7 separate regions of the Homo sapiens genome follow, and regions 1, 2, 3, 4, 6 and 7 are each linked to region 5. The links are contacts of gene promoters, found by promoter capture Hi-C in blood cells and fetal thymus (Javierre and others, 2016). All regions are on one chromosome and are shown on one strand. Each heading gives the region's core, a stretch centred on a gene start or on the middle of the fragment in contact. The rest is flanking DNA. Distances are from core to core; before and after follow the strand shown.

Region 1 (3,866 bases), core at 662-3,161, 640 kb before region 5:
TCTAAATTTTTATTTTATCATTCTTATGAATTCACATATAGTTTTACAATAGTATTGAAATATTTTATGCATTTTAATAAAAATGGAGATAATATTGTTAGTCACAATTGGCATGTTAATGTGGTGAAACTGCTAAAACTACTCTTTGCCCCCATCACTGTAAGAGCTTCCTCCGTAGTCTTTCTGACTTTCCCTCTAGCCTGTTCCCTTCAGCTCCTCAGGTAAAGTCTTCCTAAAACTAGGTTAAACAGAAACCTATAATCCCTCACTCTGATAATTTGACCCTAGCTTATTCTCCCCTACTAAAAAAAAAAAAAGAACAAAAGAACCTACAGCCCCAAGCATTAGAGTATTTAGATGTTGCCATTTCTTAGCATTGTTTGAAGTGAATATTCTTCGCCCACCGTCACCCTGTGCATCCTTCATGGTTTGACTTGGATGTGACTTTCTTTATGAAGCCATTATCAGAGTCCTTAATTGCCTCGTTTTGTTCCTACAGAGTGCTTTTATTTATAGCATGTTTATAACGTATTCTGGTTATTTATTTATTTATTCGAGACAGGTTCTCACGCCCAGGTTGGAGTGCAGTGGCGTGATCTTGGCCCACTGCAACCTCTGCCCCTGGGCTCAAGTGATCCTCCCACCTCAGCCTCCTGAGTAGCTGGGACTCCAGGTGCACCCCACCACACCTAGATAACTTTTGTATTTTTAGTAGAGACAGGGTTTTGCCATGTTTTGACCTCCTAGCTCAAGCAGTCTGCCCACCTTGGCCTCCAAGAGTGCTAGGATTACAGGCATGAGTCACTGCTCCTGGCCAATTTTGGTTAAAAAATATATATATGTATATATATATAGTTTTTTTTTTTTAGAGATAGAGTCTTGCTCTGTTGCCAGGCTGGAGTGCAGTGGCATGATTTTGGCTCACTGCAACCTCCACCTCCTGGATTCAAGCGATTCTCCTGCCTCAGCCACTCGAGTAGCTGGGACTACAGGCACGCACCACCACGCCCAGCTGATTTCTGTATTTTTAGTAGAGATGGGGTTTCACCATGTTGGCCAGGATGGTCTTGATCTCTTGACTTCGTGATCTGCCCACTTTGGCCTAATTATTTATATTCTGTAATTCTTTCCATCATCCTAAATTGTGAGCTTCTTGAAGGATGGGAACCTGTATTTTCTCTCTCTGCCCACAGATCCAGCATATAAAGTAGTTATTCTGTAATTATTTGAATAATTGAGCATATACCATATTAGTCAACATTTTTCATCTTGCTCGGCCCACCATAATTTTGTTCTACCCTACCTATTTCAAACAGTATTTCCTGCCTCTCACAAGGATGTGCTCACTGCTTCAGTGACATTGTTTTCTCCAAAGAGTTCTGTATAGCAGGGTTCCCCAACCCCTGGGCCACGGACTGGTACCCATCTGTGGCCTATTAGGAACTAGGCCATGTACCAGTAGGTGAGTGGTGGATGAGTAGTGAAGCTTCATCTATATTTACAGCCAGTCCCTGTCACTTACATTACTGCTTGAGTTCTGCTTCCTGTCAGATCAGCAGCGGCATTCTTGTAGGAGCATGAACCCTATTGTGAACTGCATGTGAGGGATCTAGGTTGCTTGCTCCTTACGAGAATCTAATGCCTGATGATCTGTCACTGTCTCCCATCACCCCCAGTTGGGACCATCTAGTTGCAGGAGAGCAAGCTCAGGGCTCCCACTGATTCTATATTACGGTGAATTGTATAATATTATATATTGCAATGCAATGATAATAGAAACAAAGTGCACAATAAATGTACTCGGATCATCTCAAACCACACCCACCCACCCCCACCCTGGGTCTGTGGAAAAATTGTCTTCTACGAATCCGTTCCCTGGTGCCAAAAAGGTTGGAAACCGCTGCTGTGTAGGCCACGATAATTTTTATTTTTGTATTTTTAAGTTTGATTTTCCAGAGATCGTAAATGCGTCATTCAGCATATGTGACAATGCTTATTCATAAGAGAAACACCAAGCCATTTAATAGCATTGACAAAAAAATTAATAGTTCAGTATGTAAAATGTGCTGCTGTAAAGATTTAAGAGCTTATTTCGAAATATGGTTTAATTTTACATTTACCTGTTACAGATTGTTAAATTTTGAAGACATGTTGAAGCAGCCATCTTTTCTGTATATTTATAAAAACATCAATTGTCTTTAGGTTTGGCTTCTATCACTTTAAAAGAGAGAACTCTTCAGTTCCAATCTCCAAGGAAATCTGGAAGCCACTTAAAGTTCAGTTTTGGAAACAGGAAGTTAAAATAACAGAAATCTCTAAGAGTAGTTTGTAAGTTTGAAGCTTTGAAAGTTGACAGATTTATTACTTGAATTATCAAGAACAAAAGGTCCTGGAGGTTTGTCTTCCAGGTTTGTTACATTATTTGTTGAACTCTTTTTTTTTTTTTTTTTTTTTGAGATGGAGTTTCGCTCTTGTTGTCCAGGCTAGAGTGCAATGGCACAATCTCGGCTCTCTGCAACCTCCACTTCCTGGGTTCAAACGATTCTCCTGCTTCAGCCTCCCGAGTAGCTGGGATTACAGGCGCCTGCCATCATGCCCAGCTAATTTTTTGTATTTTTGGTAGAGACGGGGTTTCATCATGTTGGCCAGGCTGGTCTCGAACTCCTGACCTCAGGTGACCCACCTGCCTCAGCCTCCCAAAGCGCTGGGATTATAGGTATGAGGCACCACGCCCGGCCTATTTGTTGAGCTCTTATAGACTACTTTCCATTAATGCAGCAATCATAATTATTACACTTTTAATGAAGAAAGATTTTGTGAAATGGTTTGATAAATTATTATCATTTTCGAGCATTAAAATTTATTTGTAAAGATGGGTTCAAAAACAACATGCCTAGATTTGTAGACTAACATCAGTAACTAAAAATCATTTCTCACATTTGACAATTCCATTCAAATCTGCTAACGGTCACTGCCATTTCTGAGTTTCTGCCCTATTCTGTCATTAAGGTGTCCAGGATTGGTGGTCATTTCTGGTCACTTAAGAAATTTTATGCCTAGCCAAGATTCCTGTAAAAATTGTGCTTGCATATATTTGATTTGTTTGTGTAGAAATCTGTTGTCAACAAAGTTGTGTTCTAATATAGTGAAAAATTTAAATATATTATGTTCTCATAATTTATTTCCTTAAAAAATCTTTAATTTCAAAATTGGTAAATGGTTACTTTTTAGAAAAAAAACAAACTATATATACAGAAACTTATAAAGGGTAAAAGACCCCCACCCAGTGCTATAAATTTCTACCCTATTGTTTCACTCCCAAACTGTTAAGTGTGTATTTTACAAATGCATATATTAATATAAGTTGTTTTACGAAGAAGAATCCTATAATAGCAGACTTACTTGTAGTCCGTTTAAAGAAAATGATCCATACTTTCCATAACAGTTTGTACAAATCCTGCCTGATTTTAAAAGGCTGCTTAGCAGTTAATTTTATGTAATACTTTTTTTTAAATAAGAAAAGGATGAAAAAAAGTTTGAGTTCAGCTTTTCCCTTTTGTTTCTGCCCTCTTATTTGTGCATATAACTGTATATTTGTTTCTTTTCTTTTTTCTTTTTTTTGAGACAGCGCCATGCTCTGTCGCCCAGGTTGGAGTGCAGTGGTAAGACCTCAGCTCACTGCAGCCTCTGCCTTCCGGGCTTGAGTGATCCTCCCACCTCAGCCACCCGTGTAGGTGAGACTTCAGGCACGTGCCACCACCCTGGCTAATTTTTGTATTTTTGTATTTTTTTTTTTTTTTTTGTAGAGGTGAGGTTTCATGTTGCCCAGGGTGGTTTTGAACCCCTGGGCTCAAGTGATCCACCTG
Region 2 (4,115 bases), core at 1,038-3,537, 700 kb after region 5:
ACCATTCTGGCTAACACAGTGAAACCCCATCTCTACTAAAAATACAAAAAATTAGCTGGGCATGGTAGCGGGCGCCTGTAGTCCCAGCTACCCTGGGAGGCTGAGGCAGGAGAATGGCGTGAACCTGGGAGGTGGAGCTTGCAGTGAGCCGAGATCGCGCCACTGCACTCCAGCCTGGACGACAGAGTAAGACCCCATCTCAAAAAAAAAAAAAAGTAGTGAATAGGAAGAGGCAGCAATAGAATATGCCAAAATACTAAAACTGGCAATTGCCTTTTGCTGTGGGTAGATAAAGTAACTTTTTCTTATTATTATTTTTCACTTTCTACAATAACCACTCACTATTTTAACAGATTAGAAATTTCTTTGTTAAACAATTCTCGCTAAAATAAAGGAATACAGAAATTTTATGTTGTCACTTGCAGCCAGCATTGTTAGAGTAAGTCTTTTTACCAGGCAAAGGTATAGTTAAGAAAAAATTTTTAGCTGCACTCTTTGAAATGTAAAATTGGGTTAATGTTAAAAATTTCATTCTTGTCCTTCCATTTTTGCTTGATAATTATGCACTCTTCAGGCACTTTAGGGAAGCAAAAAGAAATAATGAAGTGCCAAATAAACCTAGACACCAACACTTTATTAAGGAATAAGAATTTGATGGGTGATGTATTCAAATTTAATATATACACTTTTGAGCATGTCAGATAGCTTGAAAGGACTCAATGAAACATGTATTTCAAAGCTGGCTTCATGATCAAAGTCAAGATTTAATAATCAGGATTCTTTAATACTTGTCTTTCCGAATATGGAACTATCACTTTGAACTAAGTAGAATTACAACTGTTTAAAATGTAAATCAATTATAAGGTGTTAATACAATAAGAAACTTACCCACATGAAAAGCGTGTCAGCTATTAATTAAACTTATTAGCGTTTATATGCCCCGAAAAAGTAGTTTGTATAATATAAGCTAAGCCTCAGGTTAATGGTTAATTTTGAATTTTATTCTTCATCTAACCTTTGAGCCAATGGCTCTTCTTTCTGAGTTTTTAATCATGATTTGTAGAGGTTCCAGCAAAGCCAAAAATTCTCCCCTTGTTAGCAAAAGGTCCATACAGCATTCTACACAAATGTTATTAAATGACTACCGAGTATCTTTGAATATTTTGAGAGGCAGTTGTTCAATCTCAAGGATGATAGAAATATAGTCTAAAAATAACACACAGTGGGAGAAATGTTATATCCTGACATTGTAGAATTGCAAGACAGGCAGAATAATGTAAGATGTGTTTCCTTCCATCACTGATATACCAGTGGTAATATCTGAGAATTCCAATAGTGTTTTTATGTCTACATTCAAAGGTGACCTTGGCAATTTCCAAAGCCCGGCCCAAACTCTCCACAGACTGTCCACAATTCCTATCACAAGGGCAAATTCTACTGTAACATATGGCAGATACTGCCACCGGTACTGCCAGAAGTCAAAACAGATTTTTTTTTAAGCATAGTTCAGTTAATGTCACTTCAAGCTTTATGGATTTTGGACGGGTATTCAACTGTGATAGCTAATGGAAGAGCTGGCACAGGGTCAAAGCTTCAGCAGTTAAAGCACCTTCCATTGGGCCCAATTACATAGATTACAACAGTGACTGACAGCTCAAAAAGGTCTGTTTCAAGTCCCTAATACCTAGTAATAGATACCAGTAAAGCCACTCGAATCACAACTAAATAGATTCTTGATGAAAATAAGACAAACTGATCTGAAGTGTTGATGGTCAGAAGAAACCTAGGAGAGGCTGACTCATCCCTGCCTCCAAAGGTCCACAGACTCGGTTTTCAGGAGCGCTATTTTTATCAACCAGGATCATGAAATGTTGTCGACATTTTATCATTCTTAATGACGTCTTTTCTGCAGTACAGTCTACTTAGGAAACTCAGACAAGTCCGCTAAAATAAACTGAGCACAGCTTGGGCTAAGCTGAAGAACTAAAGGAAGAAAGAGACTTAACAACAAATCTTACAGCAGCCCTGAGCTATCAAATTCCAGGCTTTGGAGATGCCCAGTGTCCGAAGCACCCTCACTCTTGTGTTCTCTGGGAAAAGGATGACAACTGAACTGTGACATTAGCTCTGGTGACAGGCTTACAGCTCAGACTGTTCATAATTCAGGAACAGTGGCATCAGAGAAAACAGACTCGGAATAAAAAATCAAGACCAATGGTTTCCCTCATCTACAGCGCAGACTTTACCCATGTATATCAGCAGAGGGCAGTGTCGGACTGTTCAAATGCTGCAGACCCACACTAAGAAAAGGGTCCAAATGTGTTGCAGTACAACATACATTAATGTGTGTGCATCTATTGCATTTATATAAAACTTGATGTTGGCCAGGCGCGGTGGCTCACGCCTGTAATCCTAGCACTTTGGGAGGCCAAGGTGGGCAGATCACCTGAGGTCGGGAGTTTGAGACCAGCCTGACCAACATGGAGAAATCCCGTCTCTACTAAAAATACAAAATTAGCTGGGCGTAGTGGCGCATGCCTGTAATCCCAGCTACTCGGGATGCTGAGGCAGGAGAATCTCTTGAACCCGGGAGGCAGAGGTTGCAGTGAACTGAGATCGCGCCATTGCACTCCAGCCTGGGCAACAAGAGCGAAATCCATCTCAAAAAACAAAACAAAACAAAACAAAAAACTTGATATTTTAAGTATGCACAAAGTTCAGGAGGTTTCCAATCTACAGTTTTTACTTAATTTAACCTAAAATTCCAGGTTCAAAAGAACTTTACAAAAGAAAAACATAAAAGATAACGTGCATTGAGACTTCACAGTTACTTTCTCACAGGTACGATTCAGGTACGATTCTTCATCCAGAATTACCCCTTATATGCACTATGATGTTCTGATTCTGCCTGAATTTGAAACAAATGGTACTGACAGAGAGAGTATGGGAGGAAGAAACACCCACGAAAGGATGGGCAGAATTTGCAAGCTTCACTTAACAAAAGCTATGAGTTTTTTTTTCTTGCCTTAATATCACAACATATCTTTTTAAAGGAGGAAGTGTAATCAAGGAAGTAGTTTTCCCAAATGGTATTCCAATTGCCCAGGTGCTGAGTAGTAGCAGCTGGTAACTGACTTCTCAGCATCATGAAATTTCTTTACAGTCTTAAAACAAGTAATTGAAATATTTTTGGTACAAATCCTGAGACATATAACTTCAGTTCATTTTTAAAAAATGGTTCCAAATGAGAATTCAACAAAACTGAAAATCACCAAATTACACTCAGAAAGCTGTAATTCACAAAATTAATAGCAGATTTGACAGAGATGACATCTCACATGCATTTACCTTCATGGAAGCTTTTAGCTCAGAAGCGTCATACTGAGCAGGTGTCTTCAATAGGCCCAAAATCACCGTCTCCAGGTGGCCAGATAAGGCTGACTTCAGTGCTGATGCAAGTTCCTTCAAGATAACAGGCAATCATAAGGAAAATATTTATTTTACTTTAAAACTAGTGAGTAAAACAAAAGTAAGAGGGATCTTTTTGTGAAGCAGGTTGTGAGTCTTTGACCACTCCGGAGTCTTGGGTCAAACGCCCTCAACTGCATTCCCTTCAACAGACCCACATCTCAGAAACATAAACATCAGGCTTTGCTTCAACGAAATTCCTTAAAATCCAAGTTAATTTTGCCGTCTTCCCCGGTCAATAAAAGGAAACTGGAGTCGTATGTGATTCCTAAGAAAGCTGTGAGAGTGCAGGCACTTTGCAATATGCTTGAAAGCAGTAACACTCCGTGGAAGGCAGGACGCTTTCGGAGATCAAGGCCCCTGCTAAGAAGGAGATGTTTGAGCAGACAGCCTCCTGGCAAGCAGATCTTGTGGCCTCCCGATATACTGTAAAAGACGTGGGGGCAGCCATTCCAGCGGCAGCTCCTCAAAGTCACCAGAAGGAACCAGAGGCCGCAACACAGTTGGAAGTGAGGTCATGAAACTTTCCTATGCAAAACACTTCATCTAATACTGAGAAAATATCTCCTTGTCCACACCAAACTCGGACGGTGTTTAATGGAAGTGATAGGAAACTAACACCCCCGAACTGGCCCCCTTGAATTCCC
Region 3 (3,675 bases), core at 1,003-3,502, 570 kb before region 5:
ATTAATTTTCTGAATCCATTGTGTGTGGGCATTCATTGAGATCTTGAACCACAATGACTTTTGAGGCAGAACATAAAATGAGAATAAGTAAATGAAGACTTAGCATATAACAGTTTTACCCCTTCTAAAATTTTGTTTGCCCTTCTTTTATAAGGTGTAGAAGAGTTTGCTATTCTAATCGTCCTTAATGTCAACAACCAAGAGATGATATCTAGCAAACAAAAACCCAGAGAGCATCTGTAACATTCAGATACACCAAAAAAGTAAATTCTATGTTGTATGCTCCTCAAGTAGAATCAGACTTTTATCTTGGAAGGGAACTTCGTAGCCATATATTTCCTTCCTTTGTAAGATGTGAAACCAAGTAGAAATGCTTTGCTCCTCATTGTCACAAAATTTAAGTTTTTAGAGCTTTCAGTTCTAAAATAAATTTGAAATTATTAGTTAAATATTTTGGGCTAAATTATCTTTCCTCAGCTTTGTAAGTTAAGAAACCTTAGATTACTTTTTTAAGTGTAAACATAACTCCCCATGTCTGTTGATAAAAAAGAGACCCTAAGGAGGATTAAACTGTTCTCATCCTTTCGTTAGGGAACTGGGAATTGAAGCTGGAGTGACTGCAGCTACTTATACACCTGGTGCATTGCATCCTCACTTGGCCCATTATCACGCACCTCCTCGACTTCATCACTTACAATTAGGAGCTCTTCCTTTAATGGTAAAATGGAAAATTTTCAAAATTTTGACATGTTCTAAAAGTTCCTTTTCTAAGTATTTTATTGGAAATACTTCACTATATTAATATAGATGTTTTAATAGAATTTGAGAGTAATCTTGTTAGCTAAAATTGTGCTATAAAAAGGTATTAGATGTATTAAAATCTGCACGTATAATTTGCATCATAACATGTACTCTTAATGTACGACATGACAAAAAAGTGTGGGGTTTTTTGTATACCAAGATACTCTTAATCCACTGTCAGGAGTATACTGTGCTTCAGTTATTTTGCCGTAAGTGGTAATAGATCCGTTCTGATGCAGTCATACTTGATTTTCTTTTTTCTTTTTTTTTCGACAGAGTCTCACTCTGTCACCCAGGCTGGAGTGCAGTAGTATGATCTCAGCTCACTGCAACCTCCACCTCCTGGGTTCAAGTGATTCTCCTGCCTCAGCCTCCCAAGTAGCTGGGATTACAGGCACGTGCCACCATGCCTGGCTAATTTTTGTATTTTTAATAGAGATGGGGTTTCACCATTTGGCCAGGCTGGTCTCAAACTCCTGGCCTCAAGTGATCTGCCCACCTTGGCCTCCCAAAGTGCTGGGATTACAGGCTTGAGCCAGGGCACCCAGCCTGATTTTCTAATCTGCAGAAAGATTATACTAATTCTCTACATCTGATTTAAGCAGGTTCAGATTTTGTAAAGTGCTAAAGGACAAGTTCAGCAAAACATACATTGCGTTTGCTGTTTGTATTACATACTTGTTATATAAATGGTACAGAAAAGGGAATAGTTTTGTGTTGTTGTGGGTAGAGGCACTGCAGGAAAGCTTTCAGAGAAGCTTTCTGGTACATGTGACTTCTAAGCAGACTGGATTATGGAATGGTGCTCTTGCAGAGGTTACAGCATGTAAAGATGTAGCAAATAGCACAAGCACTGGGAACTCCAAGTAAGCTGGTGTTTCTAATTTTAGGAGTGAGGGTCAGGCAGCAGTGAGAAATAAAACTGTTCTACCAAGAAACTGGAACTCAGGAACCATTGAAGGGGAAATGTCCTGATCAAATTTATGATTTTAGAGTTATTTAATCAGATTATAGTTAGATCACCTCCTCAGTTATGTGGAAAAATAGATGTAAATGTGGGAAACCAGTTAGGACATTATAGTAGAAGAGGTAAATATTGATGAATGCCTGAATGAAGGCAATTGTAGTTGGCATAAAAATGATGATACACATTTGAGAGATATTTAGGGTTTGGGTGAAGGGGTTAGGTGAGTTAGGTCTTGGATGTACTGAATCTCTATGAAAGTTGAATGTCCAATAGGAAGTTAAGCCTGTGGTCTGGATTTCCAAAGATATTTGGGTTAAAGATATGTTTTGATCTGTCAGTATATGGAGGTAATGAATCCATGGAAGAGGATTAGGTTTTCAGGAAAAATGTGCAGAGTGACAAGAGGGTGAAAAAACCTTAGAGAATGACAATACTGTATTTAAATGATAATACTATGCTTTGAACAAAGGATTCTGAGAACTGGCTTGAAAAGTTGAGAAACACAGTTAAAATAATATCAGAAAATACAGTTACCACTTGAACAATGCAGAGGTTAGGGGTGTTGACCCTCCTCACAGTCGAAAATCAGAGTATAACTTTTGAGTTCCTAAAATCTTAACTACTAATAGTCTATTGTTGATCGGAAGCCTTACTGCTAAAATAAACAGTTGATCAACACATATTCTGTATGTTATAAGTACGTGATAATGATAGTCTACAATAGATAATGATAGTTTACAATAAAGTAGAAAAAAATGTTAAGAAAATTATAAGGAAGGGAAAATACATTTACTATTCGTTAAGTGAAAGTGTATCATTATAAAGGTCTCTTTCCTTATTGTCTTCACATTGAGTAAGCTGAAGAGTAGGAAAAGGAGGGATTCATCTTGCTGTCTCTGGGGTGGCAGAGGTGGCAGAAAATCTACATGTAAGCAGACCCATGCAGTTCAAACCCATTTTATGTTGTTCAAGGGTGAACTGTAATATGGTCAGTATGGTGTCATCACAAAAAAATAAAGTTTGAAAAGTATTGAAAGCATTTGGCAGTAGAGTGGTTATTGGTCTTTTGTGTCAGAATGGTTCAGTAATGGTGAGTGATGTAGATGGGGCACCTCTTAGATTACGTACGGTAAGGAAGTGAAAACATGGAGACAGTGAATATAGCCTTCTTGCTTTATAAGCTTGGCTGTGAAGGGAAAGTGAAGGAAACCCCTATTTGGTTGGCAGTAATTCCAGGATTAGTAGAGAATTTAGGTTTGGAAAAACTTAAGGTATTTTCAGGTTTAAGACAGAAAACCATTAGAGAGGAATTGTTTGAAGATATTGAAGAGAGAGAGGCTTGGTGGGAAGTAGTGAAGTAAGCATGACCCAGGGTGAACAGGTGAAGGGAGGAGTGGGTGATAAGGATTGAGTTCGAATAGGAGAAAAGCTCATCCATAAAGGCTGGAGGAAAGAGACTAGGGAGGAGAGGCTTTTCAGGGTAAGTGAAGATTTAGATAATTTGGGATGCAGGAGTTCCTTTCCGATTTCTTTGAAGATGTTTAGGAGGTTGGGTTATCTGCTGAGTAGTAATGATCTTGGTTATAAGAAAAGTTGTAAACAATTTAAGTAATAGGCTATTGAAGGTTAAAAGTTATTGCTTATTTAAATTCTTTTCCACATATGAAGTGTCCGTTAAAGCTATAAATTCTGCTTAAAGTATGTTGTGATTCAGTGTAGGCTAATTAAAAAGTAATGTCAGAGATTTATTTATAAAGATGGAAGAATGGTGCTGTATCTCAGAAATGCCCTTTCCTAATACTCTCACTATGCATGGCAGTTATGATCTATACAGTTGCTGCAAACACTGAATTAGCAAATATGGGACCCTTGCAAACCTCTGTTCACAACTAATCAGTGTATAACCT
Region 4 (3,618 bases), core at 622-3,121, 600 kb before region 5:
ATTGTAATTACTTTGAGCTATTAAAGGGTTAATATCTTATATAGTAGAATATCTTATACAAGATCTATAATATACTACAGATATTACAGGATAAATATCTATATAAGATCTTACAAATCATGTAGAAACCACTGAACATCTGTAATGAATACAACAAATCCATAGAAGAGGAAGTAAACATGCAAAGAAGTGTAGATTAAAACAGTGATTACCATTTTTACTGTGTGTGTTTTTTGTTCCTTGTGTATTTTTTTAAAAAACCTTTTTGACAGATAAGATTTTTATTTTTGCAATGAATTTCATGGTCTTCAAAGTCAAAATAAAAATTTCTGCCTAACGATTAGCTGACAGGAAGATGCCTTTAAATGTTTTTTCTTTTTGTTTCCAGGAAGTATTGATGAAGATGTTGTGGTGATAGAAGCTTCCTCCACTCCCCAGGTTACTGCCAATGAAGAAATTAATGTTACCTCAACTGACAGTGAAGTGGAGATTGTAACAGTTGGAGAAAGCTATCGGTGAGATTTTAATTCTTAGTTAAATGTTTGAAATATTAAATATAAATATTAAACATATTTGTGCTGCAGATATTTGCATTCTTTTTATTTATTTATTTTTGAGACCCAGTTTGAGTATGCATATATCAGATTAGTGGATTTTTTTTTTTTTTTTTTTTTTGGTAAGAGATAGAATATTGCTATGTTACCCAGGCTGGACTTCTACCCCTTGGCTCAAGTGATTCTCCTGTCTCATTCTCCATAGTAGCTAGGACTGTAGGCACATGTCACTAAGCCTGTCTAGATTTGTCCTTTTCAAAGCAGGCTGCATTAAACTCACCTGGAGAGATAATAAAATAAAGCTATATTGTTGCCCAGACTCTTTCCCATACTTGAACTAGAATTTTAGAGGTTAGTCTTTTTAAAAGCACCCCAAGTATACAATGAGAGTTAAGAGTTAATGCTCTGAATAAACAATAATTTTACTTAGTGTTTTATAAAATTGTGTTTTTTAATGATATGGAGAATTGATCTGCTTTGAAATTTAGATGTGAATAATACATAAATATTGGGGATGGTACCAAATTAAAAATGAAAAAATATTAAGGGGTATTGATGTTGAAATAGCCCTTTCTGTTAGAATCTACTTGTTTCAATATGTTACTCATTGATACCAGTGAAACTTGTGCTGTTACTGTGTTAGGGCACCCTAATTCAAAACATATGTTTTGATTCTTTTTCCTTCACTCAGTAATTTTATCGGTGCTCTGAACTAACACATTAATGAAACATCCTTATCTGTTTTTATAAATAACTGGAAAAGACATTGCCCTATTGCGGAATCACTTTGACTCTCCCTCCAAAATATCAACTCCTAACATTGCATTCATCTTATACTTTAGATGATTATAAGTATTGGTAATAATAGCAATAAAGAGTTGCTTTGTTACATTTGATACACCCAACTAATAATCTAACGGATGAATCTTAATTTTTGTGTTGGAACGAATTTAGAAGTGCATTTGCTTATTGCATGTTAATATGTTACTGATTTTAAAAGTATATATTCATATTTCTGACATCTGTTACAAACACTTAGAACATGCTTTTCCACTTGCCATTTTAGCATCGAAGTGCTACTTCTAAAGGCATGGAAGTGAGCATTCTATAACATATACTTGTTTGTTTTAATTTTATATTATTTTCCCCAACTCTGAGTAAAACTGAAAACCAGTGTTATGTACCACACCTATCCTCTGACCGTGCATAGTGCTTGGTACAACATTGACTCAATTTTTATGAGCTGTAAGGACTACTGAAATTACAGACCTATTTTTCCTTGTAGGACTAGAGATCTTGTTTTGGACATGGTTGATGTCAAGCAGATGCATTTACCTGAGTTAATAGGCAGTGATCTTGAAAAAGACCCACAGTGTACATGACCCATTGTTATATCTCTTATTGTTATTAAGAGATATTAATTTTGTTACTGTTTAGCTGGCTTTTTGCCCTTTAGTTTATTTTACTTAATTATTTATTTTTTGAGACAGAGTCTCCCTCTGTCACCCAGGCTGGAGGGCAGTGGCGCCATCTTGGCTCACCGCAGCCTCCATCTCCTGGGTTCAAGCAATCCTCCTCCCTCAGCCTTGTGAGTAGCTGGGATTACAGGCATGAGCCACCACACCTGGCTAATTTTTTTTGTATTTTTAGTAGAGACGGGGTTTCAGCATATTAGCCAGGCTGGTCTCGAACTCCTGACCTTGTGATCCACCCGCCTCGGCCTCCCAAAGTGCTAGGATTACAGGCGTGAGCCACCACGCCTGGCCTGGCCCTTTCATTTAAGAGAGTATTTCTTTGTTTTAGAGTCTTTTGTGTCAGGATTTGACAGTTGCTACTAATCATAGTGGCCACTAATACCTCCTTGAGACTTCCTCATACATTCATGTTTTTTTGCAGTTGCTCCATCTAGTACAATATGATGCTTTCACAAAAGTACTGCAAAGTGGACCTATAACTTCCTTCAGCTATTAACAGCTTCCCAGAGATAATAGACTACTCAGTCTCATCATAGACTCTTGATTTTTCAAGAATTTTAAATGGTGGTATCTTTCCTCATACAAAACCATTTTATCCCAAGACATGGCTATCTTGGCTCAAGCTATACCACAACTGTTTCTGATATGTACTATCCTATGTTGACAGTGGCTCGGTAATTAACTTTATACTCCTTCTTAAGAATTTTATTTTAGAATTTGAACTTTTTAAACTCTGGGTTCTATAATCGTTGAAGTTCAAGTTGGGCTGAAAATGTTGAGGCCATTTTCAGCCCACTTTGACCTTTGGAGTTCTCTTCTTAGTGGTTAAGCACCCACCCCCAATGACCTTTTATATTACAGATATTTTCTGTAAATGCTGACAATAAGGTTATAAGCAGTTTTATATTTAGTTTGAACAGGAGAAAGCCCTTGTGTTTTATTGGCCTCACCTTTCTAAAAGATTTATTTTTTTATCCTGGAGCCTTAGGACTGCATATTCTACATATTATCCCTGTATGTCCTTAGTCCAAATCATTATAGTGAGTCCTTCAAAGTATATACACCTGTAAGTAAATTTAGAACAGTGTAATGCCACACACATACTTAAATGAAGTTAGATGTTTAGGGTTCACAGTCACGTGTTTTAGAAGCATAAACTAGCTCACGCAAGTAATATTTCTTAGGGCTACCAAACTAGTAAACTAGCCACAATGTCCTTACCTCTACACATCAGGAAATCTCCCTGGTGCCTGTTTATTTTTTTTGTTTTGTTTTCTTTTATGGCAATACTAGAAGCTTAGCTTGGTTTAGGACTCCCAAAGGAATGTTTTGCAAATCTATCCTGAGCTAAACATACAAGACCTTGTGGATATTATTAAATGTGTAGGGTGTTATTTTTATTCCTTTACCTATGGTGAGTAATTTTAGCTATTAACAGAAAATGTAAATAGTTTATTATAACCTGGGTAAATTCTCAAAAGTAACCATGGAAGAGAGAGTAGCATTCTTGAAACAGAATCCTGTATTTTACACTAATGATTGGTACAACATAGTATTTCTTATATTCTTAGGTCAATTAGTTTACCGAG
Region 5 (3,617 bases), core at 810-3,309:
ATTACTCCCTCCTCTTTCGTACAGGATCTTACCTTGGCTTCTGGGACACTGCCCTTTTCGGATTGTCCTAACTCACAAGTTCATCCTTCTTAATACTGTTTGCTGGTTGATCCCGTTTTCGCTAAACTCTTAATATCACAGGACACAGTCCTTAGGCCTCTGCTGCTTTCCGTCTACACCCATTCCTTACGGATAACATTTATTCTCATGGTTTAAGTACCACTGCTGATGATCCCCAAATTCATATAGCATAGAACTTCTCACTCCTGAATCTAGCTGCCTACTCAACATCTCTATTTGTTATCTTTTGCATCGTGGCTTAAAGAACTCCATACTTCTACGAGCTTGGGCAAAACCTTTGATTTCATCCTCCACTCCCTCTATCTCACTCTCCATATCCAATTCCTAGCAAATACTGTAAGGCCTACCTTCAAAATGCATTCAGAATCCAACCACTTCTCACCATCCCTACGGTTATCACCCTGACCTGGGCCACTCTCGTCATCTGGATTACTGCAAAAATCTCCTAAATGATTTCCCTGCTTCTACACTCACCCCTACACTCTAATCACAACTCACAGCCAGGGTGATCTTCTAAAACTTCAGTTACAACATACCTCTCCTCTATTCAAAATCTCCCATGGCTTCTATCAGCCTTTACAATGATCCGGCTACCATGATCTCTTTGACTTTATCTTCTTGTCCCTCCACCCCCAAAACTCTTGCTCATCCCTCTCCAGATACACTGGCTTCCTTGCTATTCCTCAAACATGACAGGCCTAAAAGCATTTGTATTGGCTTTCCTATCTGCCTGAATGCTCTTCCTGATATTTACTTAGCAAATTTTCTTAATTCCTTCAAGTCTTTGCTCAAATAACACCTACTAAATGAGGCTCAAACTGACCACCGTCATCTTTAAAATACCAGTTCCCACCTCCACTCTGGAACTTTCCCGTACTCCTTTATATTTCTCTTTTTTTTTTTGATGGCACCATCACTTTCTAACACCATTATATATTTTATTTTCTGCATCCTCTAATAGAATGTAAGCTCCATGAGGGCAAAGCTTTTTATTTTGTTCACTTAAGTAAAATAGGCGTCTAGAACAGTACCTGGCACACAATAGGAGCCAAAAAAAAATCTGTTCAGTAAACGAAGGCAAATATCAGTAAGTATAATATGCGTGTGGGAGGGGAGAGGGGGTTAAAAAGGGCAAGAAGTCCCAATAGGTAGATAAAAACTCCACAGAGTAGGAATACAGAATCGTGCATCGTGTCCCATTTGACAAATTTTTGAGTTTATCTAGAAAATAGCCCTGCGTTAAACGTTTGTTAAAAGTGCTGATTTCAATGTTCTTACATTCTTTAAAAATTCCTTGTTAAGTGTTCTAATCTTTTAGATGTGGTATCAGCCACAGAAATTTATTGTTCCCTTCTTGTTTTGCAGTTCAGAAAATTAGAAGTCAAATTCGGAAGTAACTCGTCCTAGCATTTTTTGATTAAACCACCAAGTTTAAAATTCGTTCCTTTTGTCGGAGTTCGCACGAAGAAAGTTGGAAGGCAGACTTCAAACAACAAGCTACAAAGCACAGGAATGAGACATTTAAAAAATGCTCTCCGAAATTCGGCAAAACTCACAGGGCGCTAGTGGATGCTTTAAGACATTCACCTGGCTGAAAATACGGTGGTGGGCTGAAGACCTCCCCTAGGTGGGTTCTGTGGGCGCCCCGTGAACGACGAGCCTCCCGCCACGGGACGCGACCATCACCGCCGCCTCGCCGCCCTTCTCCGGTGCCGGCCGCGGGGCCTTGCCGGCAACGGTCGGTAACGGGCAGATCCCAGGAGCGAAGGGCCCTCAGAGACTACCCCACCAACGCACTCCGACTCCGGGGGGGCGGCAGGGAGCGCGGCCCTGCTTCCCTCCCTAACCCTGCCCTCCCTAACCCACTACCTGTGGGGAAGGCGCTTCCCTCCGCGGAGCGGACAGAAGCCGCCACGAGCCCGGCAGGAGGTTCCTACTTCTCCGACCACCTCTCCAGCCGCCGCAGAAACCGCAGAACTGAGCTGACGACCCGGAAGTGCTCGCGGAACCTGGAAGTGACACCCCGCCCGAGGGACGGGAGGCCCCGCCCAGCCCTGCTCTCGCCCGCCACTCAAGCCTTGTCAGGGAAGGGCGTGGAGAGGGAAGGAGGGGCGTCGGGCTGGAGCTTGAAGCCTTAAAGTGGTGGACAGGCGCTCTGCTCGAGTAATTCACCAGGTTTACTAAATCGTTCCTAAGGGAATTATAATTTTTAGAGACTAATCTTCTCCATTGTTAGATGCACAATTTAAGAAATGTAGGGCATTCATATTTCATGCCGGAAGTGTGTTCAGGGTAACAGTGTTGAAGACCTTGCAGACGAATTCTGAAAAGATTATAGCAGGGGCCGGGCGCGGTGGCGCACGCCTTAATCCCAGCACTTTGGGAGGCTGAGGCGGGTCGATCACCGGAGGTCAGGAGTTCGCGACCAGCATAATATGGTGAAATCCTGTCTCTACTAAATACAAAAAATTAGGCAGGCGTGGTGGCGCATGCCTGTAATTCGAGCTACTTGGGAGGCTGAGACAGGAGAATGGCTTGTACCTGGGAGGCGGAGGTTGCAGTCAGCTGAGATCGCGCCATTGCACTCCAGCCTGGGAAACAAGAGCGAAACTCCGTCTCAAAAAAAAAAAAAAAAAAAAAAATTATAGCAGGGTAAGCAGGGTATCTTCTTTACCCCTCGAAACAGGGCTGCAGGCAAAGTTTTTAGTTTGTGACCAGTTCATGAAGAACTTTAATTTGGGAGAAGTTATATTTAAAATTTGCATCTAATATGCAAGATAAATACTTCACTATAAATTTCAAGTTTGCAAAATCACAAATTGTTTTAGGTGTCAGGGTGCATGGTACACTAACTGGCTTAAACCCAGCAGTCATGTGTAGAGCAGTTTATCCTACAAAATAGCTGAATAGTGATTAAAGAGTATGTGCAAAACAACAACAACAAAACCACAAAAAACACCAAGTGGTATCAGCTGGAACCTCTGAGCAGGTCTATGAACTAAACAAGTTCTTCTTATTTAAGCCATGTTTTCGGCCAGGGGCGGTGGCTCATGCCTGTAATCCCAGCACTTTGGGAGGCCGAGGTGAGCGAATCACCTGAGGTCAGGAATTCGAGACCAGCCTCAACGTGGAGAAACCCCGTCTCTACTAAAATACAAAAAAAATTTCGCTGGGCGTGTTGGTGCATGCCTGTAATCCCAGCTACTCGGGAGGCGGAGGCAGGAGAATTGCTTGAACCTGGGAGGCGGAGGTTGCGGTGAGCCAAGATGGCGCCATTGCACTCCAGCCTGGGCAACAAGAGCGAAACTGTCTCAAAAAAAAAAAAAAAAAAAAAAAGCCATGTTTTCATTTTAAGCCACTCATGGTTTCATCCTTGGATTCCCCATTAATTAAAAAAAAATCTCAACTATGAAACACAAAGTTTCATTATTGTTTTGATGTTAAAATAAAGCAGGCTGAACTCTCTAATCCCCAAAGAATAGAAGCACTTAGACTATAGAAAGGGAAACAAGTGTAAAGGTCTGAAATTATTTAAG
Region 6 (4,137 bases), core at 699-3,198, 550 kb before region 5:
TGAGATTTTAGTGTGCCCATCACCTAGGTAGTGTATATTTTATCTAATATGTAGGTTTCTATCCCTGTCTCCCCTTCCACCCTCCCTCTTCTGAGTCTCTAAATTCCATTATATCACTGTGTTTGCCTTTGTATATTCACAGCTTAGCTCCCACTTACAAGTGAAAACATACGGTTTTTGGTTTTCCACTCCTGAGTTACTTCACTTAGAATAATGGCCTCTAGCTCCATCCAGGTTGCTGCAAAAGACATTATTTTGTTCCTTTTTATTGCTGAGTAGTATTCCATGGTGTATATATACCACATTTTCTGTACCCACTCGGTCGATGGGCACTTAGGTTGGCAATTGTGAATTGTGCTGCTGTAAACATACATGTGCAAGTGTCTTCTTCATATAATGACTTCTTTTCCTTTGGGTAGATACCCAGTAGTGGAATTGCTGGACCAAATGGTAGAACTACTTTTTGTTCTTTAAGGAATCACCATACTTTTTTCCATAGAAGTTGTACATTCCTACCAGCAGTGTTTAAGCATTCCCTTTTCCCCACATCCACGCCTACACTGTTTTTTGACTATTGTTTTTTGAGGTTTTTTTTCTTTTTTAGACAGGGTTTCAATGTGTTGCCCAGGCTGGAGTACTGTGGCACAATCATGGCTCACTGCAGCCTCAGACTCATGGGATCAAGGGATCCTCCTGCCCCAACACACGGCCCCCCGCCCCCCGCCCCCCGCCCCCCTCCCAGTACCTGGGACTACAGGTGCTCACCACTACACCCGGCTAATATTTGTATTTTTGTAGAGACGGGGTTTTGCCATGTTGCCCAGGCTGGTCTTGAACACCTGGGCTCAAATGATCTGCCCAACAGGCCTCCCAAAGTGCTGGGATTACAGGTGTGAGCCACTGCGCCCGGCCTTTTTTTCTGACTTTTTAATGATGGCCATTCTTGCAGGAGTAAGGTGGTATCTCCTTGTGGTATTAACTTGCATTTCTTCGATGATCAGTGATGTTGAGCATTTTTTCATGTATTTGTTGGCCATTTGAATATCTTTTGAGAAATATCTATTCATGTCCTTTGCCCATTTTTTGATGGCATTATTTTCTTTCTTGCTGATTTGAGTTCCTTCTAGATTCTGGACACTAGGCCTTTTTCCGATGCATAGTTTGCAAATATTTTCTCTTAATCTGTGGTTGTCTATTATTTCTTTTGATGTGCAGAAGCTTTTTAGTTTAATTAGGTCCCATTTATGTATTTTTGTTTTTGTTGCATTTGCTTTTGGGGTCTTAGACATGAATTCTTTGCTTGGGCTGATTATTAGACGAACATTTATTGAGCACCAACCATATACGACAAACGATGTACTAGGTGTTGGGAATACAATGGAGAACTTACATGAATCACCAGTCACACAAATCTCTTTTATCTTTTTTTTTTTTTTTTTGCCTTACTTGAGAATTTGGGTTTTTGAGTAAACGCCATTATTCTCTCTTTTTTTAAGCACACTTTTGCATCTCAACCACCTAACACACTGCATCCCTGAGCAACCCGGAGGGGCCGGTTCCTGCACCCAGGCCAACACAACTTAAACCCCAACACACCAGAAGAGGAATAAAGGCCAACCAACTTCCGCCCACCCACTACAAACGTCGAGAGAAATTCGTAGATGAGGCCTTGTCAAAATTCAGAGGCGTCCTACGTCTGCTTTCCCAATGAGACAGTTCCTTTTTGTTTGTCTCAGAGACTGGGGTTTTTTTTTTTTTAAAAGACTGTAGGCAGAAAAAACACCCCAACCGGCTGTTGTGACAATCAAACGTGTCTAAGAAAATTCAGCCAATGAGAGTGCGAGAGTGCATCTTGTGTTGGCCAATGAGAACAGCGACCCGTGCGCAGGGCCGCCCAATGGGGCGCAAGCGACGCGGTATTTGAATCCTGGAACAAGGCTACAGCGTCGAAGATCCCCAGCGCTGCGGGCTCGGAGAGCAGTCCTAACGGCGCCTCGTACGCTAGTGTCCTCCCTTTTCAGTCCGCGTCCCTCCCTGGGCCGGGCTGGCACTCTTGCCTTCCCCGTCCCTCATGGCGCTGCTCCGACGCCCGACGGTGAGTGTGCCCGGGGACCGCTCTCAGAGGCGAGTCCGTCGGCCCCACAGCTCCCCTGTCGCTTCTCTCATCTGCTCCGAGCTTCTCCGTCCCAACCGGGGCTGCTTTTCTCTTCTCCGGAGCTCACTGCTTCGCCCGCGTCCCTGGCCCTGCGGCCGGTCCTCTCCGGCCCGCCTTTCCCCGTCTGGATTCCGCCCTCCCCTAACCCCTCCCTGCCCCGGGGTGGGAGAAGTGTAGGAAAGCGCTTCCGAGATGGCGCCTGTCAAGTGAGCCCCCAGAGCACTAGGCCTAGTACTCAGCGAGCGATCCCCGAGTGCTCTTCATTGCTAGAGAGTTATCTACTTCCACGTTCCTGGGATTTCCCTCCCCCTTTCTTACAACTCCTTGCCAACTAAGGGACCTGTGATGGCGGCTGGGAGGAGGACTGGAAGGGTTCTGTAGGCAGTAAAGTGTACGGCGTGTTTCATCAGGCAACTGCCAGGCTGTTTTTCAGATTGTTCACATTTCTTTTTGTATGAGTTTCCCATTTATTTCGGCACGCTAAGTCTTCCATGCTACGTTCACTAATAAATGGGTTTGTCCCCTTAAAAAATTAATTTCTTTACTCAAATGTAACAGAGGTTTTTGAATATAATTTGGACCAATGTGGCAGACTGAGAGAAAAGGGTCCAAATTCATTTATTTCATCCTTGCAGAGATCAAAGTGTTATGGTGTTTTGGGTATTTTTCCTGTGGGCTTGAATTGTACCGGGACCTACTTTTTTCCTTTGCCGAAAGCTAGAGGGCCCTGACACACCTGAGTTCCATCATCTTGGCTATAAGGTTAGATAAAAGCTGCCAATTTTCCTATCCAGATGAATTTAAATTGAGTCACATTACCAGGCTTCTACCCATAAGCATTACATTTTCAAACACTTTTTCAGATTGGCAGTTGCTGCTGGAAGAAATTGAAGTGTGACTTTTGAGAATCCTAATAGATTGAATACATTTAGCATTTAATTAATATCCTTTTGTGGATCTAAGTCCAACTGACAAGTAATTTTTTATAATAATGTATTCTATAACGTTATTTAATAGTCAAAACCTTTCTGTTCAGGGAAGGCTTGAGTTTCCCTGGCCCCTCTCTCTGCCTGGTAGATCCACTCAAACCCCTTGTTGGGAGTTTTATTAGAGTCGGGACCCTGAACTCTCAGGGATAGGACATGCTGGTTTTTTGCTTTTTTCTTTTTTAATGAAATGTTTATCACTTCTATAATAAACTTTTTTTGGTATGAGTTGCTTTTCCTAGCAAGTTTTATTTCCAAGCACATTATGTCTAAAGCAGGTTAAGGTCAACTGACAATTTTTATTTCATACAATTCCAACCTTCCCTGAGTTTGGGAGCTAAAACTATATTACTCAAGAAAACTACTTCCATTCTAAATGTCCTTAATATAAGAGAAAATCCATTCTATGGCAACCTCATTTTAAAAAGCTGTAGTTCTAAAAGATCATGCATACAGGAGCATTTCTTATTTGTGAAATGGCATAAGAATCAAAGCTAGTTTAGGTTTTAAACATCTGGTTTTTAAACAACCAGACCTATTATTAACTATTAATATTATAGCTTTATTATTTTTCATCTTAATTTACTTTTTACCAAGCTCTGTAAAGGAAGGTTTTTAAATATATGCCTTTAACTTGCAGGGATCTCTAACAAGTGATATGGGTACTATATGAGAAATAATCATTAAATACTAATAAGCTTTGAAGTTCTCTTACAGGCCCACTTGAATACTCAGAATAGCTTTGCAAGGTTAGTGGGAGGATCTTTATTACGGATAAAGTAGATGGGTGATTTGCCTAATTTAGAGTGATGTTATTAATCACAAATAGCATTTTTAGACTTCCTGAAATGTACCTTTTCCATCTTGCAAATAGATCTTGACGTATTGTCCTTTCCCAAAGCAATTCTAAATTTGAGTATCTAACATTAGCAAAGTATTTCAAATTCTTTCAAGGTTTCATTACTTTTTTTTTTTTTTTTCAGGTGTCCAGTGATT
Region 7 (4,090 bases), core at 1,453-3,952, 660 kb before region 5:
TGTGAGACTCCATCTCAAAAAAAAAAACAAAAACCCAAAAAATTTGTAAATTTATTTTGATTCTTGAGCACATGTGTGTATGTGTTTTTTTTGTTTTTCTTTTTGTTTGTTTTTTGTTTTTTTTGAAGCTGAGTCTCACTCCGTTGCCCAGGCTGGAGTGCAGTGGGGCGATCCTGGCTCACTGTAATCTCTGCCTCCCAGGTTGAATCAATTCTCCTGCCTCAGGCTCCCTAGTAGCTGGGATTACAGGCCCGTGCCACCACACCCGGCTAATTTTTGTATTTTTAGTAGAGACGTGGTTTCACTATGTTGGTGAGGCTGGTCTCGATCTCCTGACCTCGTGATCCGCCAGCCTCGGCCTCCCAAAGTGCTGGGATTACAGGCATGAGCCACCGTGTCTGGCCAAGCACATGTGTTTTTAATATTCCATGTGACAAAATGGGAAGTTTTTTTTTTTTTTTAAGTTTAAGTTCAGGGGTATAAATGCAGGTTTGTTACATAGGTAAACTTGTGTCATAGAGTTTGTTGTACAGATTATTTCACCACCCAGGTATTAAGCCTAGTACCTGTTAGTTATTTTTCCTTATCCTCTCCCTCCTCCCACCCTCCACACTCTGAAAGATTACAGTGAGTGTTCTTCCCCTCATTGTGTCCGTATGTTCTTGGGAAGGTTGTTACAGGGTCTTCCATTGCATACCAAAGTATGATGCTTATTTTGAGAAAAGAACTTGTTTGATTTAGTTATAAAATGGATTAGCAAACTAGTCACTTCTTTCATGGAACACATTTTTACTTGAAAGAAGCAAACTGTAGTTGTGTGAACTTGGATATTTGTACATATTTTCTCAAAAATAAATGAAGTGAGCCGTTCACTTCAAGAAAAACAAATGACAGAATTTATTGCCAAAATAAAATTCAAACTTTCAAGCAAAAATTAGAATTGTGGAAAACGCCTATCAGTCACTGTAATTTTGGCAGTTTCTCAGGACTTTGCAATGAGATTGGTTGTGTTATTAACAAAATTTATTTTTTTACTGTTACATAATGAAATGTGTCATGTTTGAAAGAGGTGCGTAACTTGGTGAAACAATATTTTTCAGATGACCATGATGTTACAAAGTCATGTCTGGGTGAAAGATCTATGTAAAGTGCAGTATCGAGCAGTTGTTTTTTCACTGATAGTATGAGGTTTCATTGATATGGTTTCAAATTCCACATTGCAATTAAGTTCAAACTGCCTTTGTAAAGTTTTGGGGTAGTATCAAAGAGGAATAACACCCACACTTACCTGAAAAGGTTATTAAATATACTACTCCCTTTTTCAACTACATATTTGTGTGAAACTGGATTTTCTTATAATTTAACCAGAACAGCATATCATGATAAATGGAATACAGATGCAGATGTGACAATCCAGTTTTCTTCTGTTAAGCTAGTCATTAGAGAGATTTGCAAAAAATGTATAGCATTACCGCTCTTATTAAAGTTTTGAAAATATTTTAATAAAAGTTACTTATATTAGATATAATGGGTTTGCAGTGGGGTTTGTTTGTTTTTGAGACGGAGTCACACTGTCACCCAGGCTGGAGTGCAGTGGTGCAATCTCAGTTCACTGCAATCTCCGCCCCCCAGGTTCAAGCAATTCTGCTGCCTCAGCCTCCCGAGTAGCTGGGATTACAGGCATGCACCATCACACCCGGCTAATTTTTGTATTTTTAGTAGAGACAGGGTTTCACTATGTTTCCCAGGCTGGTCTCGAACTCCTGACCTCAGGTGATCCGCCCACCTCAGCCTCCTCAAGTGCTGGGATTACAGGTGTCAGCCACTGTGCCCGGCCTATTACTGCAGTTTTAAAATAATACATTTTAAAGCATTTATGAGTTTTACTTTCTAATAGGGTAAGGGTATTAGTTCGTTCTCACACTGCTATAAATAACTGAGACTGGGTAATTTATAAAGAAAAGGGGTTTAATTGGCTCAAGGTTCCATAGGTTTTATAGGAAGCGTGGCAGCATCTGCTTCTGGGGAGGCCTCTGAGCTTTTACTCATGGTAGAGGGCAAAGCAAGAGTAGGTGTCTTACATGGCAGGAGCAGGAGAGAAGGGGGAAGTGCCACACAATTTTAAAAAACCACATCTCATGAGAACTCCATAATGAGAACAGCACCAAAGGGATGGTGCTGAACCATTAGAAATTGCCCAGATAATCCAGTCACCTCCAGGCAGGCCCCACCTCCAACAATGGGAATTACACTTTGACCTGAGATTTGGTTGAGGACACAGATCCAGACCATATCAATAAGTATCAGTAGATATAACCCATATAATAAAAGCTTTTTCAGATCTTCCAGTGATTTTTTTTTTCCCTTTTTTTTTTTTTTTTTTGAGACAGGGTCTCTCTCTGTTACCCAGGCTAGAGTGCAGTGGTGAGATCTTAGTTCACTACATTCTCTGCCTCCTGGGCTCAGGCAGTCCTCCCACTTCAGCCTCCCAAGTAGCTGGGACTACAGGCATGTACCACCACACTTGGCTCATTTTTCTATTTTTAGTAGAGACGGGTTTCACCATGTTGTCCAGGCTGATCTCAAACTGCTAGGCACCCGGCCCATTTTTAAGATTATGAAGGACCTCAGGACCGGGCCTGGTGGCTCACATCTGTAATTGCAGCACTTTGGGAGGCCGAGGCAGGCGGATCACCTGAGGTCAGGAATTTGAGACCAGCCTGGCCAACTTGGGGAAACCCTGTCTCTACGAAAAATACAAAACAGCCAGGTATGGTGGCGGGCGCCTATAATCCTAGCTATTCGGGAGGCTGAGGCACGAGAATTGCTTGAACTGGGAGGCAGATGTTTCAGTGAGCCAAGATGGCACCACTCCGCTCCATCCTGGGTGACAGAGCTGAACTCCGTCTCAAAAAAAAAAAAAAAAGATAACTGCTGCTGCAGAGAATTAACCAATTTTTGATGGTAGATGAGCCCACTATTCTCCTTTCATCCCATCTTTCAGTTATGTCAGAATTTTTGATTATTTTAAAGAACAATTCAGCAAATGCCTATTGAATGCCAAATATGTGTTCTAAGCTTTTGGGCACATAGTAGTGATCAAAACGAAATCTGCTCTGGTGGGGAAACAAAGTTGTAGATGGTCATTGTGGAAATAAGTGAGCTGGAAAAGGAAGATAGAGGGTGGGGTTAACTTTTTATTTTTTTGCCTTTCCACAAAAATTTTAATGTTGGTATTAACTACTAATGTGAGGTGGTCAGGGAAGGTATCATGGATAAGGAAACATTTGAACACAGATGTAAAGGAAGTGAATGAGTGAGCCTCGTGGTTATCTGGGGGAAGAGCATTCAAGGCAGCGTGACTAGCCATAGCATGGTTGACCTGCTTGAGAAATAGCCTAGAAACTACTGGGGCTTTAGTGGAGTAGGTGAGGAGGAGAATGGTGGTCTCTGAGAACAGAGGTATGAAGGGTTCATGTTCTTCAGTTATATGAAATATTTACATTGCCTTTGATAACTTCTTAGCCATTTTTTACCTCTCTTCTCTTTTCTGGATTTCCTGTCAATCAGGTAACAGGATTCTATTGCCATCTCTACTTTGCCTGCTATTAGTTCCTATTTTTGTTGTTGATTAAAAAAAAATTCTTTTTACTATCAGTTTAGTGGGGATTGGAGGGAGATTTGAAATAAAGGTCTTGTATAACTTACCATGTTTTTAAAAAATGTGAACTTTTGCTTTTGATAATCATGACAGTTTTACCAGGAAAAAGTTATATTAGTGACATGGAAATGGGCTCTCCACATTTGGCGAATAGGTTCACTTTAGGAAGACTAAGTCTATTTTGACAGCTAGGTTCTTTAATAGAAAATACTTAATACTTTTATTAAGTGAAGAAAATCATGTGATATAAGATTTGTTACAGAACACCTACAAAACATACATTATCATGGGATTTTATTTTATTTTTTATGAAATCATGTTTAAAGAACTAAGTACAGTAGTCCTCCCTTATCCATGAGGGATACAGTCCAAGACCCCCAGTAGATGCTTAACAGCCACAACATGCATACCTATTATAAAGTTTAATTT

What was found. The method cuts DNA at HindIII sites, captures the fragments that hold promoters and counts their contacts. A CHiCAGO score of 5 or more calls a contact.
Region 1: a contact is called between a fragment that was not itself captured here and the fragment with the promoter of GTF2A2 in region 5, in 1 of 17 cell types (monocytes). The highest score is 6.5, in monocytes.
Region 2: a contact is called between a fragment that was not itself captured here and the fragment with the promoter of GTF2A2 in region 5, in 1 of 17 cell types (M2 macrophages). The highest score is 5.1, in M2 macrophages.
Region 3: a fragment that was not itself captured here is called in contact with the fragment with the promoter of GTF2A2 in region 5 in 1 of 17 cell types (monocytes); the score reaches 5.4 in monocytes.
Region 4: a fragment that was not itself captured here is called in contact with the fragment with the promoter of GTF2A2 in region 5 in 4 of 17 cell types (monocytes, erythroblasts, total B cells and 1 more); the score reaches 6.8 in monocytes.
Region 6: the fragment with the promoter of CCNB2 here is called in contact with the fragment with the promoter of GTF2A2 in region 5 in 1 of 17 cell types (monocytes); the score reaches 5.4 in monocytes.
Region 7: a contact is called between a fragment that was not itself captured here and the fragment with the promoter of GTF2A2 in region 5, in 1 of 17 cell types (neutrophils). The highest score is 5.1, in neutrophils.

What each region holds. Positions count from the first base shown.
Region 1 is chr15:59,015,321-59,019,186 of GRCh38, forward strand. All of the region lies in intron 1 of RNF111 (ring finger protein 111), which reads left to right. Among named protein-coding and RNA genes, the nearest start is that of RNF111, 30 kb to the left of the region's middle. RefSeq lists a silencer at 3,759-3,808. The HindIII fragment of the contact is 854 bases long and covers 1,485-2,338 here.
Region 2 is chr15:60,357,593-60,361,707 of GRCh38, forward strand. It overlaps ANXA2 (annexin A2), which reads right to left. Exons shown (of 13, transcript NM_004039.3): 5 at 3,349-3,462. Among named protein-coding and RNA genes, the nearest start is that of ANXA2, 38 kb to the right of the region's middle. The HindIII fragment of the contact is 1,397 bases long and covers 1,590-2,986 here.
Region 3 is chr15:59,085,068-59,088,742 of GRCh38, forward strand. It overlaps RNF111 (ring finger protein 111), which reads left to right. Exons shown (of 14, transcript NM_017610.8): 10 at 592-718. Among named protein-coding and RNA genes, the nearest start is that of CCNB2, 18 kb to the right of the region's middle. The HindIII fragment of the contact is 1,390 bases long and covers 1,558-2,947 here.
Region 4 is chr15:59,051,917-59,055,534 of GRCh38, forward strand. It overlaps RNF111 (ring finger protein 111), which reads left to right. Exons shown (of 14, transcript NM_017610.8): 3 at 389-515. Among named protein-coding and RNA genes, the nearest start is that of CCNB2, 51 kb to the right of the region's middle. The HindIII fragment of the contact is 2,904 bases long and covers 420-3,323 here.
Region 5 is chr15:59,655,456-59,659,072 of GRCh38, forward strand. It overlaps GTF2A2 (general transcription factor IIA subunit 2), which reads right to left and starts at 2,060. Exons shown (of 5, transcript NM_004492.3): 1 at 1,951-2,060. RefSeq lists an enhancer at 1,867-2,096. The HindIII fragment of the contact is 4,994 bases long and covers 1,065-3,617 here.
Region 6 is chr15:59,103,198-59,107,334 of GRCh38, forward strand. It overlaps CCNB2 (cyclin B2), which reads left to right and starts at 1,949. Exons shown (of 9, transcript NM_004701.4): 1 at 1,949-2,095; 2 at 4,125-4,137. The coding sequence starts at 2,072. RefSeq lists an enhancer at 1,472-1,761. The HindIII fragment of the contact is 2,621 bases long and covers 1,217-3,837 here.
Region 7 is chr15:58,997,799-59,001,888 of GRCh38, forward strand. The region is part of intron 1 of RNF111 (ring finger protein 111); the gene reads left to right. Among named protein-coding and RNA genes, the nearest start is that of RNF111, 12 kb to the left of the region's middle. The HindIII fragment of the contact is 747 bases long and covers 2,330-3,076 here.